Linked DNA regions of Homo sapiens: all the other regions are linked to region 1. The links are contacts of gene promoters, found by promoter capture Hi-C in human tissues and cell types (Jung and others, 2019). All regions are on one chromosome and are shown on one strand. Each heading gives the region's core, a stretch centred on a gene start or on the middle of the fragment in contact. The rest is flanking DNA. Distances are from core to core; before and after follow the strand shown.

Evidence for each region. Contacts are between HindIII fragments. The study calls those that stand out against the background at their distance.
Region 2: a contact is called between a fragment that was not itself captured here and the fragment with the promoter of GFAP in region 1, in 1 of the 25 tissues and cell types used here (dorsolateral prefrontal cortex).
Region 3: a contact is called between a fragment that was not itself captured here and the fragment with the promoter of GFAP in region 1, in 1 of the 25 tissues and cell types used here (bladder).

The regions. Positions count from the first base shown.
Region 1 is chr17:44,914,250-44,918,928 of GRCh38, forward strand. It overlaps GFAP (glial fibrillary acidic protein), which reads right to left and starts at 1,251. Exons shown (of 9, transcript NM_002055.5): 1 at 777-1,251. The coding sequence starts at 1,237. It overlaps LOC105371793 (a long non-coding RNA gene), which reads left to right and starts at 4,470. Exons shown (of 2, transcript XR_934781.3): 1 at 4,470-4,679. The HindIII fragment of the contact is 9,658 bases long and covers 1-4,679 here.
Region 2 is chr17:44,441,500-44,446,178 of GRCh38, forward strand. The region is part of intron 3 of GPATCH8 (G-patch domain containing 8); the gene reads right to left. Among named protein-coding and RNA genes, the nearest start is that of ITGA2B, 54 kb to the left of the region's middle. The HindIII fragment of the contact is 3,607 bases long and covers 332-3,938 here.
Region 3 is chr17:45,314,000-45,318,678 of GRCh38, forward strand. It overlaps MAP3K14 (mitogen-activated protein kinase kinase kinase 14), which reads right to left and starts at 3,021. Exons shown (of 16, transcript NM_003954.5): 1 at 2,961-3,021. The HindIII fragment of the contact is 4,566 bases long and covers 39-4,604 here.

The DNA.
Region 1 (4,679 bases), core at 1-2,500:
CTGGAGGATGAGCAGATGTGGGCTTTTGCCTTAACTCATTACTAAGGTGCCTTATCAGGGTTGGTGCACCTGCTTCTGCTCACACAGGCGCATCCACAAGCATACACTCACTGTTGCACACACACACACACACACGCACATGTCCTCCTGCACTTGAAGGCACACATGCATGTCCTGTCAGCTCAGTGAAGCGCCATGCCCCTGGGGATTCCTCTGATCCCAGGTAACCACCTTTTGAAATGAATTTTATTATGACCACCGCTTCACAGCTGTGCAAGTCAAAGTAACTTGATGGGGGTCACAAGCTGGTGGCAGGCAGTCACCTGTGCTTTGCGCCCAGACCTGCCTGCTCTTTCCCTCACTTTCTTCACCCCAGAATCCAATCTCCCTCATGGACATCAACCTTCTCCGCTTCCAACTCCTCCTTTATATGGACACAGGCTCAGAATAGGTGAGCTCGCTGCCCACAGTCACAAAGCCCAGCCATGAATGAAACACAGGGGCCCCGCTGCTCCTGCACTGCTTTCCCCAGTAGGGAGGTGCTGAGGGGACCCTGGACTCCTGGCAGAAGGCATGCGGGCATCAGATCCCCGGGGCCCTGGGCCTGTTTCTGGTCCCTCCCATCATGTTGGGGGGCAAGGATAGTGCCCCATCAAGAGGTAGGGAGGCCCAGGGAGCAGGGAGGTTCGGCCCCTCCCTGAGACTTCTCGGGCACTCCTTCTTGGGGATTCAGCCCCTTCTGCTCACAAGGCCCCCCTTCCCCATCCCCTCCTCACTTCTGCCTCACAGTGGCCAGGTCCTGTGCCAGATTGTCCCTCTCAACCTCCAGCCGGGCGCTGTTGGCGGTGAGTTGATCGAGCCGCAGCCGCAGCTCTCGCAGCTCAGCCTGGTAGACGTCTGCCAGCTTGGTGGGCTCCTTGGCCCGCAGCTGGTTCAGCTCAGCAGCCAGCGCCTTGTTTTGCTGTTCCAGGAAGCGAACCTTCTCGATGTAGCTGGCAAAGCGGTCATTGAGCTCCATCATCTCTGCCCGCTCACTGGCCCGGGTCTCCTTGAAGCCAGCATTGAGTGCCCCAGCCAGGGAGAAATCCACCCGGGTCGGGAGTGGAGGGGGCATTCGAGCCAGGGAGAGGCGGGTGCCAGGACCCAGACGGCGGCCAGGAGCCAGGCCCCCCACCATCATCTCCCCTGAGGAGACGTAGGAGCGGCGAGCAGCGGAGGTGATGCGTCTCCTCTCCATCCTGCTCTGGCTCTGCTCGCTCCTGGGATGCGAGGGCTTTATGAAGGAGTGGGCTAGACTGGCGATGCCCGGGTGCCCCTGGCAACACCCCCTGGCATAGCCTGAGGGGGTGGGGTTGGGCCGCAGCCCAGCTATGGGGAGAGCTCCCCTCACCCCACTGAGGTCACTGTGCCCAGAGGCAGAGCTTCCTGGGCACGCCAACTCCTGCATGAGGCAGGTGGTACCTGGAGCCAGACCATGGGTCTGGGGCCCTGACCGCTGAAGCAAGAGGACCCTCTCTCTAGGAAGGTGGGTCAAGAAAGGGTTGGTTGGACCATGATGAATACTTACAATTATTATGCATCAATTAAAAAGGAAGGAAAGGGCTGAGTGGGGTGGCTCATGCTTGTAATCCCAGCACTTTGGGAGGCTGAGGCTGGAGGATTGCTTGAGCCCAGTAGGTTGAGGCTGCAGTGAGCTGTGTTTGCGCCACTCCAGCCTGGGCAACAGAGAGAGACCTTGTCTCACAAAAAAAAAAAAAAAAAAGGGAAGGAAGGGCTGTACCAGATGACCTCTGACCTGCTTTCCAACTTTTTGATTTCATAACCCAGGCATTATCTCACTCAGCTGTAAGTGCCTGCAAGGTGCTGGGAATTTGGCGAAGAATGAACCTGTTCTGTACCCTCAAGGGCCACCTCATTTCCTACTAGGCCTCATTCCCAGCAGACTCCTGGAGTCCTTCCCTTGAACACAGATGTCCCACATTCCTGCTCTCTGCCCATTCATTCCCTGGAGTTCTGGGGCTGGGGGCTGGGATTGGACACCAGCCCTTTGTCTAAGGGTCAATCATGGCCTCTATGTGGCAGTGGAGGTCCTGATAGGGCAAGAGGGGGCCGGCACTCTCTTGCCTTATCAGGACTTTAGCCCCTGGATCTGTCCCTCCAGGTCACCCCTTCCTTGTCTGGCCTCCCTGTGCCTCTCTCCCAGAGACCAGGCCTTGACAGCTCCACAAAGCCGTTACACATGAGCTGGCTGTGCTGGCTCGTCTTTATTCCTGCAGCGCCCCGTTTCCCTGGCCACCCCTCCGTCTCCCACTGGAGATTTATTTCCTCGAGTTCCCACACATCAGCCTGGAGAGATGGGAAGAACCTCTGGGGATGGATGGGTTTGGAAACGCTGGAGCCACTGGGCCCAACTAGGAGCCTGAGACCTGGGCCCTGTTGTCCCTGGAGACTTCAGGTCCATCTACGCCCTCCACTCTGGTCCCACAGGGTCAGAACCCTGCCCAGTCCCCTCACCCATTTGTGTCCTTGGACTTCTGGGAAGCAGACAGCCCTCCTCTCCCCCCCTGCCACCCACTGTCCATGCCTGGGCATCCCCTGATCCCCTTTCCTGGGCACAGGCTGAATAGAGCCTTGTTCTCCACCGCCGGTGGCGCCACACAGCAAGGGCAGCCCCTAGGGGGCTGTGCTGCTTTTATCCCAAGATGCCAGGCTGTCAGGCTGGGGTGCAATGCAAGCCCCCTGCTCAATGGGCTTCTCGGAAGGCATTTGAGGGGGGCTGGGGTGCGGCGGGAAGCAGGCACTGTGCCCACCCCGAACATTGTGTCTGTGCCAAGGTGAGTCATTCACTGGGCATGAAGAGGAGGCCCTGGGGGGCGGCCAGCCCAATGCTGCCAGGTCTGCTTGCAGACAAGGCCTGGCTGTCTGCCTCCTCCCCAGCTCACAGAGCCAGCTCAGGCCCCCGAGCCTCTGTCAGAGCAGCGTCCCCTACTCCACACCAGGATATGTTCTTTTTTTTTTTTTTTTTTTTTTTGTCTTTTGAGACAGGGTCTCACTGTTGCCCAGGCTGGAGTGCAGTGGCGCAACCACGACTCACTGCAGCCTCAACCTCCCAGCCTTAAGTGATCCCCTCACCTCAGCCTCCTGAATAGCTGGGACTACAGGTGTGTGTCACCACACGTGGCTGATTTTTTAACTTTTTTTGTAGAGATAGGGTCTTGCCATGTTGCCCAGGCTGGTCTAGAACTTCTGGGCTCAAGTGATCCTTCCACATCAGCCTCCCAAAGTGCTGGAATTACAGTTGTGCGCCACTGCGCCCAGCCCAGGGTATGCTCTGCATTTGGACATGTGATGGACAGACTGCCTCCTGAGGTCTCCCTCTGTGAGTCCCAGCACAGAGAGGGAGGTGGGAGCTCCTTAGGCTCTAGTCACATCTGACCTGGGCGTAAGCAGTGACATAGGAAAGAGCATCTTGAAGACGGGGTGAGCGCCCAGTGACCTTTGATCCTGCTATGAACTGGGGACCTGGGGAAGGACAGGAGGCTTTAAAGGAAGAGCAAGGCTGGGCATAGTGGCTCATGCCTGTAATCCGAGCACTTTGGGAGGCTGAGGTGGGCGGATCGCTTGAGTCCAGGAGTTCGAGACCAGCCTGGGCAATGTGGTGAAATTTTGTCTGTACAAAAAATACAAAAAAATTAGCCAGGTATGGTGGTGCACTACTGTGATCCCAGCTATTCGGGAGGCTGAGGTGGGAGGATCACCTGAGCCCAGGAGGTGGAGACTGCAGTAAGCCAATGTCGCATCACTGCACCCCAGCCTGGGTGACAGAGACTCTGTCTCAATAAATAAAAAAATAAAATAAAATAAACAAAATAGAAAAGGAAGACTGGGGATAAGCTCTTGTCTGAACTCTGTCTCATCTCTGTGGCTAGGAGTGGCCCGCCTTTCCAGGCTGCCCAGCAAGTCACAGCATGTAGCCTTCCCTTTTGGTTCAAGGGAAGTCTAGTTAAAATAAGGGCAAAGCTGTCCTAGAGAGAAAAGATGTGATGAGCAGGAGGTGCCTGTCATTGAAGCTCAGTGAACTGTCCCTGTGTATGTGAGACACAAGCTTGTTTCAGCATCAGCAGTTGGAGTCCCCCAGCTTTTGCCATCAGCCACCTCCGTGGACCCCTGTCATAGGCCCAGGTGCATCCTCCACCCCTTCTCAACCCTCAGACCTTTCCTCACACTCAACCCTTAACTATCTTGTTTTTGTTTTTTGAGACAGGGTCTTGCTCTGTTGCCCAGGCTAGAGTGAAGTGGTGCTATCACAGCTCACTACAGCCTCAATCTCCCTGGCTCAAGCGATCCACCCACCTCAGCCTCTCTAGTAGCTGGGACCACAGAGATACACCACCATGCCCAGCTCATTTTTGTATTTTACTAGAGACAAGGTTTCGCCATGTTGCCCAGGCTGGTCTCGAACTGTTGGGCTCAAGTGACCCTCCCACCTCTTCCTCCCAAAGTGCTGGGATTACAGGCATGACCTATACAACCGGTACATATAGATCACGCCTGGCCAACCCTTAACTATCTAAAGGTGTCTGCACAGAGAACCAAAGATACAGACAGATTTGGTCGTGGTTGTGTTCCAAACTTTCATTATCTTTTTAATTAAATATTCATTGTAGAAAGGTCAGAAA
Region 2 (4,679 bases), core at 885-3,384, 470 kb before region 1:
GATCACTTGAGGTCAGGAGTTCGAGACCAGCCTGGCCAACATGGTGAAACCCCATCTCTACTAAAAACACAAAAATTAGCTGGGCGTGGTGGCGGGCACCTGTAATCCCAGCTACTCAGGAGGCTGGGGCAGGAGAATCACTTTAACCCGGGAGGCAGAGGTTGCAGTTAGCTAAGATTGCACCACTGCACTCCAGCCTGGGCAACACAACGACACTCCTTCCCCCCGCCCCCCAAAAAAATCAAAAGCCCGGGCACGGTGGCTCAGGCCTGTAATCCCAGCAATTTGGGAGGCCGAGGCGGGTGGATCACCTGAGGTCAGGAGTTCAAGACCAGCCTGACCAACATGGTGAAACCCTGTATCTACTAAAAATACAAAATTAGCTGGGCATGGTGGTGCATGCCTGTAATCCTAGCTACTTGGGAGGCTGAGGCAGGAGAATCGCTTAAACCCGGGAGGCGGAGGTTGCAGTGAGCTGACATCGTACCATCGCACTCCAGACTGGGCAACAAGAGTGAAACTCTGTCTCAAAGAGACAAAAATAAAATAAAATAAAATAATATATATATACACATATATATGTGTGTATATGTATACGTATATATATACATATATATATATATAGAGAGAGAGAGAGAGAGAGAAGGAGAGAGAGAAAGAGAGTTTCTACTATATTCAAGGCACTGTTCTGGGCACTGCATATAGTGATGATGTAAAAAAAAAAAAAAACACCACAACCGCAGCACCACGTTCCATGAATTACCAATAAATAGGCAAAATAGAGTAATCTGACCAGCTGGAACTTCAGCTGAGAATGAGAGAAAACAGAACATTTGTGAAGCTAATGCATAAGCAGTTAAAAAAGCTTAAAAATGTCTGAAGTTGTCTTTTAAAGATATCTAAAGTTGTCTTTAAAGACGACCTTAATGAAGTGCAAGTAAATATAAAAGCCATCAAAAAGTCACAAAATCCATGTTTTTTTTGAGACAGGATCTTGCTAAGTCACCCAGGCTGGAGTGCTGTGGTGCCATCTCCGCTCACTGTAAATTCCAGCTTCCAGGCTCAAGCAATTCTTGCCTCTAGGCCTCCTGAGTAGCTGACACTACAAGTGCCTGCCACTACATCTGGCTAATTTTTGTATTTTTAGTAGAGATGGGGTTTCACCATATTGCTCAGGCTGGTCTCAAACTCCTGGGCTTGAGTGATCTGCTCACCTCAGCCTCCAAAGTGCTGGGATTACAGGTGTAAGCCAATGAGCCCGGCCTAAAATCCACTTTCAAAAGACAATTAAAACTGGGCTGGGCTTGGTGGCTCACGCCTGTAATCCCAGCACTTGGGGAGGCCAAGGCAGGAAGATGCCTTGAGGACAGGAGTTTGAGACCATACTGGGCAATAGAGCAAGACTCTGTCTCTCCAAAAAATTTTTCTTAAAAAAATTAGCTGGGCATGGTGGCATGCACCTGCAGTCCTAGCCACTGAAAATATTGAGGCAGAAGGACCACTTGAGCCCAGGAGCTGGAGTGAGCTATCATCGCACCACTGCACTCCAGCCTGGGTGACAGAGAAAAACCTTGTCGAAAAAGAGAAAAGAGGGGAAAAAAGACCATTAAACTGATAAAGGCCAAGAACCTACACTGACATCTTTAAAGTACTTATTTCTTCTTTTTAAGTAATGCAAATACATATGTGAAAATCAAGATAAAAAAAATTACGCAGGTGATTCTCTGATTTGCAAAAGTATTCAAAATAGGATTCAAGTCATGTTAATGGACTTAAATATCATTTCATTTATTGAAACTGTGATCACATGAAACTTTCAGAAACACTGAATAAAAAATGGTACATTTATTTCCAAACCAAAGCTTAATTTTTGCAAATTTCTCCTGAAAATGAGTCTTTAGGTGGCATAGAAACAATTATTACTTTCAGCATCGTTTAGATATTTTTCTAAGCAACTCTAACATATGATATATGCTACCTCTCAGAAAACATTAACTGAAAACATTGAGCACATTACTTAATCCCTAGAGAGTTTTTAAGGTTTAAAAAAAAAGGAAAAACTTTCTACCCAAAATAGAGTTCAAATTATCCAGTACTACAAAAACCTACTATATTCTTGCCATGGCCTTTTTAGTGACCTATACAACAACCAAATTAATTTGATTTTTTTCTTCCTTTATTTATTTTTTAAAACAGGGTCTCACCATCGCCCAGGCTGGAGTGCAGTGGCATAACCACGGCTCACTGCAGCCTCAACCTCCTGGGCTCAAGTAATCCTCCCATCTCAGCTTCCTAAGAAGCTGGGACTACAGGTGCACACCACCACATGTGGCTAATTCTTGTTATTTTTTGTAGAGACGGGATTTCACCATGTTGCCCGCCCAGTTTGTTCTTGAACTTCTGAGCTCAAGCAATTTGCCCACTTTGGCCCCACAAGGTGCTGGGATTACAGACATGAGCCATGGTGCCTGGCCAATTTGATTTTCAAATACAGATGTTTTCTAAGGCACACAAGTTTAATTATGACCTAAACGAATTTCCATCTGATACTTTCCATCTAGGATAAAATAGTTCAATTTTAATCATATAACTAAATATATTAATAAACAGGAACAAAGGTGGGGCAAAAGGCTTTAGTGAAAGTGTTGTTAAATCAGAATGTTAGGCCTGGGAAGGATATCTCATCCAGGGATAACATGATATCCTCAAGCCCTTAGAAGAGATAATAAAGAGAATTCATGAGTTACTTTCAATTAAAAAAAAAAAACCTAAAGAAAATCATACTTTTACATGAGATACAACTGTTTTAGCTAAAATTATACTGACTCACTAAAGATTGCCTCAAGCTAACCACCATGCTAAGATCAATTTGTTTTTTCAAATGGGAAAGCCAAATTAATAAATACAATTTTGGGGTAAAATAGTCTAAAACATGGGGCTGAGGAGATACGGAAAAAAACAGTTAAGTCTTTAGTTTAAAGAAAAAAAAAAGGCCAGGCATGGTGGCTCACGGCTGTAATCCCAGCACTGTGGGAGGCCAAGGCAGGCAGACTACTTGAGGTCAGGAGGTCGAGATCAGCCTGGCCAACATGGCAAAACCTCGTCTGCATTTAAAATACAAAAATTAGCTGGGCGTGGTGGCATGTTCCTGTAATCCCAGCTACTTGGGAGGCTGAGGCAGGAGAATCACTTGAAACTGGGAGGCAGAAGTTGCAGTGAGCCGAGATCACACCATTGCACTCCAGTCTGGGGCAACAAGAGAGAATCTCCATCTCACGGGGGGAAAAAAAGTGGTAGCACTTTTGTGCCCTGAGTTTTACTTATGTTTATATCCATATCTGACACAGTATGTAGGCCAGAATGGCATTTAGTTAAAAAGCATTTGTTGACTCAGAGAATGAACATGTTCGTAGCGGGTCTGAAACTTGTTCAACTGTAAATACTTAGTCATCATGATGCGCGCCGCTTAACATCACAAGATACTAATGATTTAACTCTCATAATCAAGGAATTATTTTATCAAGTAGAACATATCACTATATTAGAAAGGTCTCCATATATCAAAAAATATGTAAACTTTTATAATGAAATATTTGAGTTTTACATTACTGGTCATTAGAGCCTTAAGGCTTGTTCAATTTCATTTCTTGTTATCACTCAGTAGTCAAGGAGAAGGAAGCATCAAATGTTTAAGAAAAAAATACTAAAGAACTTACATTCAACATATATCGACAAACTTTTAAAAAACTGAATTGGAAAGTTGCCATAACCAGTTTCAGTGAAGGAAAACCTCAAGTCAGCCCCCATAATAATGGTGTTTTCCAGGAAATTAGGTTTAGGGTAAGTGGTCTGTTAGAAATTCTGAAAACATTTTTCCTCTTTTTAAAAAACAGGTCACAGTAAAAATTAATGGCTTCCTTCAAGTACCCAGTACACTCCTATATACATGTAGGTAGACCAAAAATTACCAGTGAGCTCCAATCTATGTGAGTATTTCTTTTTCTTTTTTTTTTTTCCCCCCCTAAGATGGAGTTTCACTCTTGTTGCCTAGGCTGGAGTGCAACAGCGCGATCTCGGCTCACTGCAACCTTCACTTCCTAGGTTCAAGCGATTCTCCTGCCTCAAGCCTCCTGAGTAGCTGGGATTACAGGTGCCCGCCACCAGGTGGCTAATTTTTTGTATTTTTAGTAGAGACGGGGTTTCACCATGTTGGCCAGGCTGGCCTCGAACTTCTGACTTCAGGTGATCCACCCACCTCATACTCCCAAAGTGCTGGGATTACAGGCATGAGCCACTGTGCCCAGCCTACATGAGTATTTCTTGATTAATGAATTCCAAAAGAAAAAATATACTTGTAAAGAGTGGCAACATGAAACTCAGGGGATCTGAATTACAGTTCTGTCACTAATGGGGCATGTGACCCATTATTAGCTATTAATTTCTTTTTATTTTTAGAGACAGAATCTCACCCTGTTGCCTAGGCAGGACGGAATGCAGTGAAGTCATCATAGTTTACTGTAACACTGAACTCCTGGGCTCAAGTGATCCTCCCACCTCAGCCTCCTAAGTAGCTAGGACTACAGGCACTCACCACCATGTGTGGCTAATTAAAAAAAAAAAAATTTTTTTTTGTAGAGATGGTGTCTCACTATGTTGCCCAGGCTGGTTTCAAACTCCTA
Region 3 (4,679 bases), core at 1,072-3,571, 400 kb after region 1:
GATGCCACATAATTTCAAGGGATTTCTATCAGGGAGCTGAGGGATTAAGACATGTAGAAAAGCAAGAAGGGAAGAGGCTCCTTTAAACTAGAATACAAAGAGCACACCGGCCACTGAAGAAAAATGACTTTTTCTGCATTGTCATTCAGGCAGTCATAAGCCCAGAACAAAAAAATCTCATACTTCAATGTCCTGCTCAGCTCAACAGAAATGCTCCCCTACAATTTGCCCTACGTCTGGCCTTCCCTTTTTGGGCTACTACTTTCAGCATTTTAGCCAGCATCACCGAGTAAATGCAAAACCTTCACACATGCATCACTTTGAATGCCCACCCAGCTCTTGCAGATGCTCAGCCCCATTCTGTTCCCTTACTAGGGAATCCTGGTGTGTGGAGACCAGAGGGGCTGACATCCTTAGAGCTCCCTAAATCCACTGACATGGAATTGTCCCCGGCCCACCAATTTCACACTGGTGCCATCAATAGTGCCCATAATGCTCAGATGTTTCCAGTTTAACTGAAATACTAAAATGGGGCAAACAGGAAGCATCAGACACAACTGTGGTAGTGACTTATTAATCACGAAAGCAGAATTTTAGTTGCATTTTAACCTTTTGCCAGGAAAAAAAAAAAAACAACCTTGAGATGATGGAAGCCATTAGTAGAAGTACGCTGCCTTTATGCGTATTGGGCTGACTTAGACTTTTTACTTAGGACTGACTTTGCTTTTAAGATTTCTGAACTTTCCCCCCAGAAAGAACATCTGTCAAACCAACCAATATGAATCTGTCAGCTCTTCATCGAGGCAGGCAGGCTTGTTAGGAAAGCCCATGTGCTGTCCATTGAGACAGGAAAAAAAATAGGAAGTTAAAAGTGCCTTCACAGGCCAAAGTGATACAACACTGTTCAGAGGGTGCCAACAACGAAGAAAACAACCCTGGATAAAGCTTTCATCTCTTTCACATCTCCGCAGATCTCTCACCAGACCCTAGCCAGGGATGAACTGTTATCAATCACCAAAAAAAAAAAAAAAATCACAACAGTTGCCGAGGGCTGGACAACCAATCAGCGCAAGCCATCTTCTCAGCAGTAAATGATATACACATATTCCAGGCAGATCACAAAGGAGTCAGTGTTCAACAGGAGAACCAAAATGAGGAACCAAACCTTCATCTGTTGAGGCGAAACAGCCCAACCAGACATTTTTGTTTAATAGAGGGAGACTGATTTGGCAGGGTCTCTGTGGTGCCGCTCCCACAAACTCTTAACAGACAATACCAATGACAAAAAACCCCCTTCAGAACTGCTTCTTATAATCAGAAAACACTCAGAAGATGGCCTGAAGCTTGGCAGCGTCTTGCTGTCTGATTTCACAAAGAGCTGGTACACATACCTGGGTACTTATCTCTAAAATTAGAGTCAGAGACGATTACTTTTATTTTGAGATCTTCTGAGAAGTTCTCCACACCCTTCAAAATAAATAAGGATGTCCGAAAGGTGTCTGAAAAATTCAGAGGTCTGGCATCGCTCCAAAGAAACTGATTGATATCACTTAAAAAACACCAAGAGTAAATCCAAACACAACCAAAGTAAGGCAAGCACTTTTTAAGTGTCCTCTCACATTAAGAGCATAAAAACCACACCAAAAACTTCTCCCTCCTTTCTGCATCTCAGTTCTATAATGTGGTCCTGATCTAGGATTCTGGGAAAGACCCATCCTTAGTCCCAGCTATGAGGCATCAGGCAAGATATATACCACCCCCACTCCCTCATACACACCTGCCTCAGGTGCCTCGCCCATAAAACAAGACACTACAATCTGTCTTACCACACAGCCATCTGAAGGAAAACGGAGCTCACAGGTATGAAGACACTAAGCAAAAAACACATCACTAATGTTAAGATACTGTCTCCTTCTAATCTTTCAGAAAGACCATGTTTCTAGTCAAGGGGTTTCCAACATTTTTCTTGGAATAAACTCCAGACTCCTATTTTATATCATGACCTCACTCTAATCATTTAATTTCATGTGCTTTTAAAGTCCTTAATTAAGTCATTGGTGTTCATTGTCTCCAGCGATCAAAAGTAGTTTTACCATTTACTTTGCTGATGTATGTACCTTTTCACCACTTATCCTCTCCCTCATTCATACCTCCAGTCCACCCTTTAGGGCCGAGAGCAACTTTTTAACCTCGACTAGGAAGGAAACACTTTTTCTGAAGCTACCCAGCACTAAGGAGGCTCCCGGGCAGGTGGGAAACGTACGTACAAGTGGCCCCTCTCTGCCTGGTGCCCAGTGGCTGCAAGATGCCAGGGCCACGATGGGTTTCCAAGATGGGAATGTTATATTTGAACCGACAGATAAAGTCCCGAGTTGGAGAGCCCAGAAGAATTACAGAGGAGGACTGGGGTCCGAGGGCGGAGGGAGGATGCTGCGGGCGGCCAGCACTGCCCCGCTGCATGCTGAGGACAGGCTTAGCTCCTGCTCCCCGCCTTGAGGTGTGACCTGAGAACTTCCCATGAAAGGCCGGGAGGGTTTCACGCCAGGGCAGATGCCAGGGCGCACTCCTGCAGGAGACACGTCCGCCCCGCGGCAGGCGAGCTCCATCCTGGGGGCACTGGGGCGCAGAGCAGGCGGGCGGGCCTGGCGGCGGCGCGGGGCACTAGTGAAGGGGAAGCAGGCGGCCCCTGCGCGCGCTCGGAGCCAGCGTGTGGCCAGCAGGAGTGCGCGGCCTGGAGGCCCGGGGCGAGCGCGGCACCGGCAGCGCGTGCGAGGGCGCGCCCGCGGACCGCTGCGAGTGGGTTGGACGGGGTACGTCGGACTGCGCTGGCCTGGCCGCCGACCCCACTGCTCCGGGGCGAGGGGCCAGGCCGCAGCCCAGCCCGGGGCTGAGAGGCGATCCATCCCAGCCGCTCCCTGGTCGCCTCGCACCGGGCCCCAGGGTCCCGCCCCGTCACCTACCGGCCAAGCGCCGATCTCCCCAACCAAGCGAGTGTTGCGCTCCGCTCGCCCGCGATCTCCCGCCGCCGGCCGCCGACCGCTGAGCTCCCGGCCCGTGGTCGCCCCGCCCCGGTCCCGGGCTCCGCCCCCTCGCCTTCTCGGCCGCCCCCGGGGCCACGCCTCCCCCGGAGGCTGTAACTTTGCCTCGCTTCGCGCCTCCTTTCTTTGGCCGCACCGCGACCCGTGGCCCCGCCCACTCCCCTACGCCAACCAATGAGACGGTCGTCCCGGCAAGCCCGTCTTCCCGCTCCCTAGCAACGATTGGTTAACGAGGCCTGGTTTCCAGAAATGGGCACTATTTCCGGACGATGTTTGTAGAAGGGAGATCGCTGGGCGGGCGGACTGACAGAAGGCGGAGGCGACTAGGGTGTTGGTGGAACCACACATGCGCCCTCGGCTTCTGGCAGTCTTACCAGCTGCGTTCTCGAGGTTACGGGAAGGAAGGGCGAGTGTGCGCATGCGTGGGCACTCCCTGCCACTGACTTCGGTTACCTTGGAGACAGCGAGGCGCTCTCCCTCGTGGGTCGCGCGCGTTCCGCTTCCTCTCTGCTGCCAAGCGGTGGCGGCTGAGGCGGGAGGTGGTGGGGGTAGAGACGTTTTTATTGAGCTCTTACCGTGTGCCTGGTCCTGTAGAATCCCTGGAATGAGTAAAGAAGGTTACAGTGCCTGCCCTCGAGAAGCTTGGGGAGCCAAGGGCTTACAGGGGCCCGACCTGTGGGTTGAAACCCAGGTACAAAGAGAGCATGTGGGTGCGTGGCGTGGTACGAGCGCTGAGCAAAGCATCTGCTCTCTGGGTTTGCAGACCACAGAGCCAGCAAGAGGATGAGAGCTTGATGTATGCAAAGAAAGGACCTGGAGTTCAGAATATGCATTGAAGTGTCAACAGTGCTTCTTTCTGAATGGGGGTCGGGGGTGGGGAGTAGGGAAGGTATAGAAACTTTTTCTAACTTTTGCCCCTCTGTATTATCTAGTGTTTCCACACTGAGCTTGTATTTTATTTGTAATAAATTCCAGGCCAGGCACGGTGGCTCACTCCTGTAATCCCAGCGCTTTTGGGAGGCAAAGGCAGGAGGATCGCTTGAGGCCAGGAGTTGGAGAACATCCTGGGCAATATAGCAAGGACCTCGTCCTTGCAAAAAAATAAAAGAATAGCCAGGCGTGGTAGTTTGCACTTGCAGTCCCAGCTAGAGGGGAGGCTGAGAGTCTGAGGTTACAGTGAGCCATGATCGTGCCACTGCACTCCAGCCTGGGTAACAGAGTGAGGCAGTCCTTTAAAAAAAAAATCCAAACTTTTTTTTTTATTGCAAAATAAAAGATGTACTCCTACCCTGGGCATCCCACTTCCATGAAGGGTCCATGGTAGGTGTGGTGAGTGGCTCTAGTCCGGGGATAGGCAGGCCCCACCCAAGGCTGTCTTGAAAAGTAAGGAACACCCCATCTCTGGAAGTGTTTGAGCAAAGACCACCATCTGCTTGAGACTACTTTGCAGACAGTCCGAAGCTGAACTCTTCTTTCTGGATATCTGTGCCAAACAGTCATCTCTGCTGGGGAATAGGGAAGACCATTTATTTAGGCAGTGGTCAAAAACTCACAACCTGAGGGCCTCATTCACTCACCCAGGCCAGAAATATGCTTTGTTTGGCTGGCCCAATATTTTTTTAAATTTGAATTTGAATGCCT